Regions from separate parts of the Homo sapiens genome. Here region 2 is linked to region 1. Evidence: promoter capture Hi-C in human tissues and cell types (Jung and others, 2019). All regions are on one chromosome and are shown on one strand. Each heading gives the region's core, a stretch centred on a gene start or on the middle of the fragment in contact. The rest is flanking DNA. Distances are from core to core; before and after follow the strand shown.

Region 1 (3,938 bases), core at 443-2,942:
CTACCTGCAGCTGCACCATCCCACTCTGGGCCAATGCCCAGTGCCCCAGGCCTTGCTCCAGGTCCTGCAGCCGGCGGCCCAGCCCCAGCAGGCACAGGTGCAGGCTGTTCTGCTCAGCCTCTAGTACCTCCAGGCCAGAAATGGGGTGCTGGGGAACACAGGAGCCAGGTCAGGGCCAGTGGGCCAATCAAGATATCACCCCTGCTCCCATCCCCACCCCTCTTCTGTAAGCTTCTGGAAACTTCTCTGTGGCACAGTCCATCTCCGGGTCTGTCTGCACCAGGATGGCTCCCACTGGGGGGGCCTTCCCAGTGGAGCCAGGCCTGAGGACAGATATCTAGTTCAAGGTCTCCAGGTTTTCAAAGCTCCTGGAAACTTGGATGTGTGAGGCCTGGGGGGTCTGGACAGGGAGCGGGGCTGGGTACCCCCCAAGAAGAATGGGGCTACACCAGGAGCAATGATGAAATGCTTCTCAGCCGGGCGCAGTGGTTCACATCTGTAATCCCAGCACTTTGGGAGGCCGAGGCCCGAGGATCACTTGAGCCCAGGAGTTCAAGACCAGCCTGGGCAACATGGTGAGACATCATCTCTACTTTTTTTTTTTTAATAAAAAAGAAATATGGCTGGACACGGTGACGCACGCCTGTAATCCCAGCACTTCGGGAGGCTGAGGTGGGTGGATCACCTGAGGTCGGGAGTTCGAGACTAGCCTGGCCAACAAGTCGAAAACCCATCTCTACTAAAAATACAAAAAATTAGCCAGGTATGGTGGCATGTGCCTGTAATCCCAGCTACTCGGGTGGCTGAGGCAGGAGAATCACTGGGACCTGGGAGGCGGAGGTTGCAGTGAGCAGAGATCTCACCACTGCATTCCAGCCTAGGTGACAGAGAGACTCCATCTCAAAAAAAAAAAGAAAGAAAGAAATACGTCTCCCCAGTTGGTCAGATATTGAAACACTTTTCCAGAAGGTCCCTCCCCCTACAGACACCCAACACCTTTCCAGAATCATCACCCGGTCCTCAGTATGGAGGCCAGACTCCAGGGGACAGAGAGGAGGTGGGGCTGGCACAAGGGGTCTGGGTCACCTCAGCTCACCTCACAGTGTTTGCCCCCAGCTGGGTCCTCGTAGGAAGAGGGTGTTGACCATCTCGGGGGGTGAGCGGCAGGCTCATTGCCCCTTGGCCCACCCTGGAAGTGCTCAGGAGGGCCCAAGGAGTCCTGTCCCAGGGTCTGGGCCTGCTCTGGGCTAGGAGGCAGGGGGCGGTGACTGGGTGAGTCTCGACACCTCACTTTTCAGCCTACCGTCACCCCAACCCTGGTGGCCTCTCCTATGTCCCCAGGCGATCACAGCCATGGCACCTCCTACCCTCACATGGCCCCTGCCACCACGCCTACCCTTTTGGGAACAAGCTTCCAAAGCCCCGGCCCCCACCTCGTGCTCTCCTCTCCGGACGCGGGGCAGACGGTGCATCCAACAATGTCCGCCTCTCTAGGTGCTCCCGGTGGGTGGTTGAGGGGCTCTGAGCCAAGTCTAGGGCCCAGAGGCAGGGACAGGGCCATGGCTGGGGGCCTGGGGACACAAAGTCAGGTGAGGGCAGCCAGTAAGACCTCTTCCCTAGACAAGGGTGTCCCAGAGCTCCTCCGCTGGAGTCACCCGGGCCTGAGGCTGCAGGAGAGGCCCAGGACAGGTCTGGCTCCGCCCCTTCCAAGAGGAACCTGGACCCGGCCATTTGATGCCCAGCTCAGGTGACAGAAGAGTCACTTAACTCCTTCCTCCCTAGCAGGCCAGTAGCTAAATCTCCCAGCATCACTCCACGCCATCCAAGAGGGTTCCAGATAGAACCCCTGCGCCACCTCCTCAAGAGCCCTGGATTCTGCCCCACTGGGAACCCAGAAATCGGACCTCCAGGGCCTACCCCATTCATTTAAGACCCTAGATGCCGCTCCCCTCAGGAAACCAAGCATCTGGCCCCTAAAAAATAAAAATATAAAACCAAGGAAAGATTTTTTTGTTTATTTGGTATGGGGTCTTCTGTAGCTCACACAAAATTATTGGGAAAATAAATAACCCAGGGGAGCCCCCTTTGCCCACGGTTCCTAGGTCGCGGAGTCACAGCAGCCCCAAAGGGGCAGGAACCTGGGAATCCGAGGGGTCCCGGCCCTGGCGGTCACTTGCCCAGCAGGAGGCCGGCGCGCAGCACGCGGGGCACGCGGCGGATGGTCAGCGAGACCCGGGTGCCGCGCACCAGGCAGGCTCCCGGCCGCGCCGACGGGCAGGCTGCCGCATTGGGCGGCGAGGAGGCGGCGTCCAGCGCGTCTACGCGGGCGGCGGCGATGCCGTGGAGAAGACGCGTGTAGGCGGGGCCGCGGAGCACCAGCAGGCTGCGCGGTTCCAGCAGTAGCGAGGTGGTGGGCCGGGGCGGAGGCCGAGGCTGCAGGGCGGGTTGAGGGTCAGCAGGGCTCAAGAAGTCGGGGGGTGGGGGTGGGCGAGAGGTCGGTAGCCTCCGGGGATCAGCTAGTCCCCAGGGGCAAAAGCTGAAGAGCAAGTGTGCTCACAATGATGGAGGCTTTGGTGGTTCAGGAGTGAAAATTGCTGGGGCCTGGGCTGGGGCTGCTGGAAAGGGAGGGCGAGGGCTCTGCCGTCCCTCGGGAGGGGGCAGGATCTAGGTGGCAGATGGGGGCGTCAAAGGGTCAGCGGCCGGTGGGAGCTGCAGCTGGGATCTCAAAGGGGCTGAGGCTGGGGCTGGGACCCAGGAATAGGCAGTCCCCAGGAAATACAGGCAGAGCTGGGCTGAGAGAGCATGGCTGAAGCCAGGACCAGGTGAGGAGAGAGTGAGGCAGAGGTTAGAGGCAGTGGGGGTTCCCAAGGACATCAGGACATTAGAGGACAACCGCACAGCTGAGGGAGTGTCAGAGCATCCAGGAGCATGCAGGGCTCGAGGGCAAGCCTCAAGGAGTGGGTCGGCGTGTTCAGGGGCGTTTCTGTGAACACTGGGGTGCTAGAAATGCATCACTCAGAGAAATTGTGTCAAGGGGTCAAGGAGAATCTGGGGGTGTCCTGCACCCCAAATCACATTCCTGGAGTAGCAGGACGTCTGGGGCACCCTGAGCAGGGGCAGATAGAGCATCTGGGAGGAGGTGAGGCCCCCCGAGTTAATGGCGGTGGGGTATCTAAGGATATCAGTGTCTGCTGGGGAGTCAGGGGTATCCATTCAGCAGGTTGGGGCATCGGGGAGCCTGTGAAAATCATGGCATGTGGGACAGACACCCTGTAAGCAGATGGGTTGGGTGTCTGGGAGGAAGTGGGTACACCCCATGAGGGGACAAGGGAAGGTATCTGGGAGAGTGCCAGGAGTACCCCGAAGGCATGTGGGACCAGGTCATCTTGGAGGATGTGCGAGGTTGAAGTGCCTACAAGCAGCTGGGGCAGTGTCTGGGGGCCCACCTGTTCTGTAGGGTCATCGTCCTCTGGCCGCCGCGGCTCGTAGAAGTCCAGCACGGTGTGGGAGCCCAGGCTGATGGTGCTGACAGTCGGGTAGTACAGTGGTCCGTCCTCGTGGGGCTAGGGAGTGGGCACCAGGGCTGGGCAGGGCAGGAGTCCACAACCCCCACCCTCTGGGTCAAAGGGGGGCTTCCCAAGCCAGGGACAGGGAGGTGAATGCCTGTTTGGGAGATGTGGCTGCCTAATGAGTGAGGGTGGGTACAGAGTCCCCTGCCCCAGCACAGCTCAGAAGTCTGAGTGGGGGGACACGGGCCGAGGGTGTGTGGTTACCATGATGCCCTCCCCAGGCAGATACTGGTTCACGAGGACATGGTTAGCTGGGAGGCCTCCAAAGAGGCTGAGGTTTGACACTTTGTCCACGTAGCGCTGGAGCCATGGGGGCAGCCGCTCAGGAACCATCCCTCGGGGATGAGGAAGCCCACCTGGGGAAGGCAA
Region 2 (4,141 bases), core at 203-2,702, 35 kb before region 1:
TGTGTTTTTAGTAGACACGGGGTTTCACTATGTTGGCCAGGCTGGTCTGGAACTCTTGACCTCAGGTGATCCACCTGCCTCAGCCTCCCAAAGTGCTGGGATTACAGGCGTGAGCCACTGCGCCCTGCCAAGATTTGGGCAGGGACAAATAGCCAAACTATATCAGACACTAACAACATCCCTGTGGCTGCCAGTTGAGAACAGATTACAGGGCTTGTGAAGGAATGAGGCCTGGAGGAACAACAGTGAGGAGGCTGCTGCAGTAGTCCCGGCAGGAGACAATGGGGCTTGGACCAGGGTGGGGCAGTGAACGCAGGAGAAATGTGGGCTGGAAACCACCAAGTGAGGCAAAATAAGGAAATCATGGACTGGGAGAAAGGAGGTACCCCTTGATCTGGAAGGACAGGTGGAGGCTCTTGGTAATGGGGGAAGCCCTTGGGTCCTGTCTGAAGGCTCTCCTGTTTACTGGATGAGGTGGGCACACCTGGCTCCTTGGTAGGATTACTCATCTAGATTCCTGAGAAGAGGACTTGCAAGTATTGTGTTAGGACAAATCTGGATATTGAAATCAAGACTCCCAGTTTAAAAAAAAAAAAAAAGAAGGCCGGGCACAGTGGCTCACGCCTGTAATCCCAACACTTTGGGAGGCCAAGGCGGGCGGATCACGAGGTCAGGAGTTCAAAACCAGCCTGACCAACATGGTGAAACCCTGTCTCTACTAAAACTACAAAAATTAGCTTGGCATGGTAGTGCACGCCTGTAATCCCAGCTACTCAGGAGGCTGAGAGAGCAGAATTGCTTGAACCTGGGAGGTGGAGGTTGCAGTGAGCCAAGATCTCGCCACTGCATTCCAGCCTGGGAGACAGAGCGAGACTCTGTCTCAAAAAAAAAAAAAAAAAAAAAAAAGATTCCCGGATAGAGGCTGGGCATGGTGGCTCACATCTACAATCCCAGCACTTTAGGAGGCCAAGGTGGGCAGACTGCTTGAGCTCAGGAGTTCCAGACCAGCCTGGGCAACATGACGAAACCTCGTCTCTACTTAAACACACACACACACACACACACACACACACACACACACACACACACACACACACAGAAAGATTCTTGGTTAGCTGGGCACGGTGGCTCACACCTGTAATCACAGCACTTTGGGAGGCCAAGGTGGGCGGATCACAAGGTCAGGAGATCGAGACCATCCTGGCTAGCACAGTGAAACCCTGTCTCTACTAAAAATACAAAAAATTACGGGGCGTGGTGGCAGGCGCCTGTAGTCCCAGCTACTGGGGAGGCTGAGACAGGAGAATGGCGTGAACCCAGGAGACGGAGCTTGCAGTGAGCCGAGACTGTGCCACTGCACTCCAACCTGGGCGGCAGGGTGAGACTCTGTCTCGAAAAAAAAAAAAAGAAGAAGAAGAAGAAAAAGAAAGATTCTTGGTTAGTAGACGAGGGTGGGGCATCCTAGATCTGCAAAGGCCCCACTCTCAATATCCCAGAATCCAACCCCCTCAACCTCCTTATCCTCCACCCCTCCCCGATGCTCAGGAATTCAGCCCCTCTGAAGACCCCAGCTCTTGGTCACTCCTGCAGGGGAACCCACAGCAGCTGGGGCTGTCAGTTATCCTGGGCGACAGATGGCTATGGTTGTACTTCCACACCTCAGAACCATGGGCAGAGGCAGGTCTGGAGCAAGAACCGCCCACACTGCATCTCTTTTACAACCGGCAGCACACACGTCACTGCACGTGGCTGAAGGTTGCCACTCACACAAGGCAGACTGTGCAGTGACTTCATTCAGGCAGGACCATGACATGGGCAGTCCAGATCCACTGGTCTTCGTGCATTTGGGCCCCGCAGCCACCTGATACCCTGAGCCAAGCCTTAGTCCCCACAGGAGACTGGGGGCCCTGTGCTGTCCCTGTAGCCCCAAAGGGGCCCCTTAGCCACTGCCACCAAGTGTGACACCTACACCCTTCGAGGCCAGTGCCGTGCCTGGATATGCCCCTTCCCCAGCTCCCTGCCTACGCTTTGGGAGTGCTTCCATGTCTGTGTACACCCTGTCAGGCCTCAGTGTCAACACTGAGCCCTCGAGCTTCTGGGCTGGCTGCCGTGAGTGACCCTTCAAGGGAAAGGGTTATAGGCTGCTGGGTAAAGGGGATTCTGGGACTTAGGAATGACACTCCTTAGTTCTGGAGGCTGATTCCTGGGGCAAGGGTGTAGGGTCCCTGGAAGGGGACAGCCTCTGGGTCCTGGGGGCAAGACTGCTGAGTTGGGGGGTGCGGGGAAAATAATTCTAGGGCCCAGAGACAGGGCTCTTTGGGTCTGGGGCCAGGGCTTCTGGGTCCTGGGCATGGGAACAACTTGGCTATAGGGCTGGGACTGCTGGGTTCTCAAGTTCTAGAGACTAGAACACCTAGGTGGTGACAACTCCAGTATCTGGGGTGAGCGCTCTGAGTCCCAGAGCCAGACTTATTTATTTATTTAGACAGGATGTCACTCTGTTGTTTATTTAGACAGGGTATCACTCTGTTGCCAAGGCTGGAGTGCAGTGGTACTATCATAGCTCACTGCAGCCTCAACCTCCCAGGCTCAAGCCATCCTCCCTCCTCAGCTTCCCAAGTATCTGGGACCACGGGCATGTGCCACTATGCCCAGATAATTTTTTAATTTTTTTTGTAAAGATGAGGTCTTCCTATGTTGCCCAGGCTGGTCTCTAATTCCTGAGCTCAAGTGATCCTCCCACCTTGGCCTCCCAAAATGCTGGGATTACAGATGTGAGCCACTACGCCTGTCCCAGAGCCAGACTTCTATGTTCTGGGGAGTGGACTTCTGGTTTCTTAGCACAGAGACTTCTTTACTCTGTGAGGCAGGGATTGCTGGGTCTGTTGCCTGGAGAGCTCCATTCTAGAGGGTGAGGACCACAGGATGTTGGTAGGGATTCCTGGAAGCTGAGAGCAGGGACATTTGCACTATAGGGGTGGCCAAATGCTTGGGTCTTGGAAACCAGACCTGGGAGTCCTGGTGTGAATACCTTTCCCTTCCTGTCTTTCTCCATCCCCACTCCTGCCCCTGCAGCTATTGAGTGCCCCGAAAACAATCACTATGAGCCATGTGGCTTATCCTGTCCAGAGACCCCCCACAGGCAGGCCCACTGGGGGTTACCACTGCCCTGCGGGCATACTTGTGCCTGCGACACAGGCTGCTTCTTCCTTTTTTAAGAGACAGGGTCCTGCCAGGCGCGGTGGCTCATGCCCGTAATCCCAGCACTTTAGGAGGCTGAGGCAGGCGGATAATCTGAGGTCAGGAGTTCAAGACCAGCCTGACCAATATGATGAAACCCCATCTCTACTAAAAATACAAAAATTAGTTGGGTGTGGTGGCAGGTGCCTATAATCCCAGAATCTAGGGAGGCTGAGACAGGAGAATCGCTTGAACTCAGGAGGTGGAGATTGGAGTGAGCCGAGATTGTGCCACTGCACTCCAGCCTGGGCGACAGAGCAAGACTCTGTCAAAAACAAAATCCTAGAATCTCAAGGGCAAGCCCCAGTGTACCAGAAGTGTCAGACTCTGGGATCTTGGAACCCAGTTCTGAGCCAATAATTCCATTTCCTCATTCAACAACCATATATTGAGTATCTACTGTGTTCCAGGCACTATTTGAAGTGCTTCTTTAAGTATGTTAACTGAATTTCAGAACACACTCTCAGTCCAGGTCCTGGGCACCCCCATATAGGATCCAGGAGTTCTAAAGTCCCAATCCCCAATGTTTACAAACCCTCACAGCCCCCCAAATCCTAGATGCCAAACACAACTGCTGTGGACAACAACGATCAGAACCATGGACAGCAGTTCAGGCATTTGTAGCTGCTGTGGGCCCACCCCCTGCCCAGTACCAGTCATCACAGCACCCTGGAACCCCTGCCATTACTTAGAAAGTCCAGCATCCTTGGAATGCTTATAGACCAGCATCACCTATGAACCTCATTCATTTATTCATTCATGCATTAGTTCGACAAATATTTATTGAGCACCAACTATGAGCTGAGAACTGTTCTATTTTATACACGTGTGTGTGTGTGTGTGTGTGTGTATGTGTGTGTGTGTGTGTGTATGTATGTATTTGAGACAGTCTCACTCTTGC

Evidence for each region. The method cuts DNA at HindIII sites, captures the fragments that hold promoters and counts their contacts. A contact is called where the count stands out against the background at its distance.
Region 2: a fragment that was not itself captured here is called in contact with the fragment with the promoter of SYNE4 in region 1 in 5 of the 25 tissues and cell types used here (dorsolateral prefrontal cortex, mesenchymal stem cells, mesendoderm cells and 2 more).

The regions. Positions count from the first base shown.
Region 1 is chr19:36,007,121-36,011,058 of GRCh38, forward strand. SYNE4 (spectrin repeat containing nuclear envelope family member 4) reads right to left here and starts at 1,693. Exons shown (of 8, transcript NM_001039876.3): 1 at 1,434-1,693; 2 at 1,097-1,247; 3 at 5-148. The coding sequence starts at 1,561. It overlaps ALKBH6 (alkB homolog 6), which reads right to left. Exons shown (of 7, transcript NM_032878.5): 5 at 3,774-3,925; 6 at 3,447-3,563; 7 at 2,000-2,433. The coding sequence ends at 2,170. RefSeq lists enhancers at 865-1,406, 1,407-1,946. The HindIII fragment of the contact is 19,934 bases long and covers 822-3,938 here.
Region 2 is chr19:35,971,980-35,976,120 of GRCh38, forward strand. No RefSeq gene overlaps it. Among named protein-coding and RNA genes, the nearest start is that of SDHAF1, 21 kb to the right of the region's middle. RefSeq lists silencers at 1,575-1,775, 3,775-3,975. The HindIII fragment of the contact is 9,546 bases long and covers 1-4,141 here.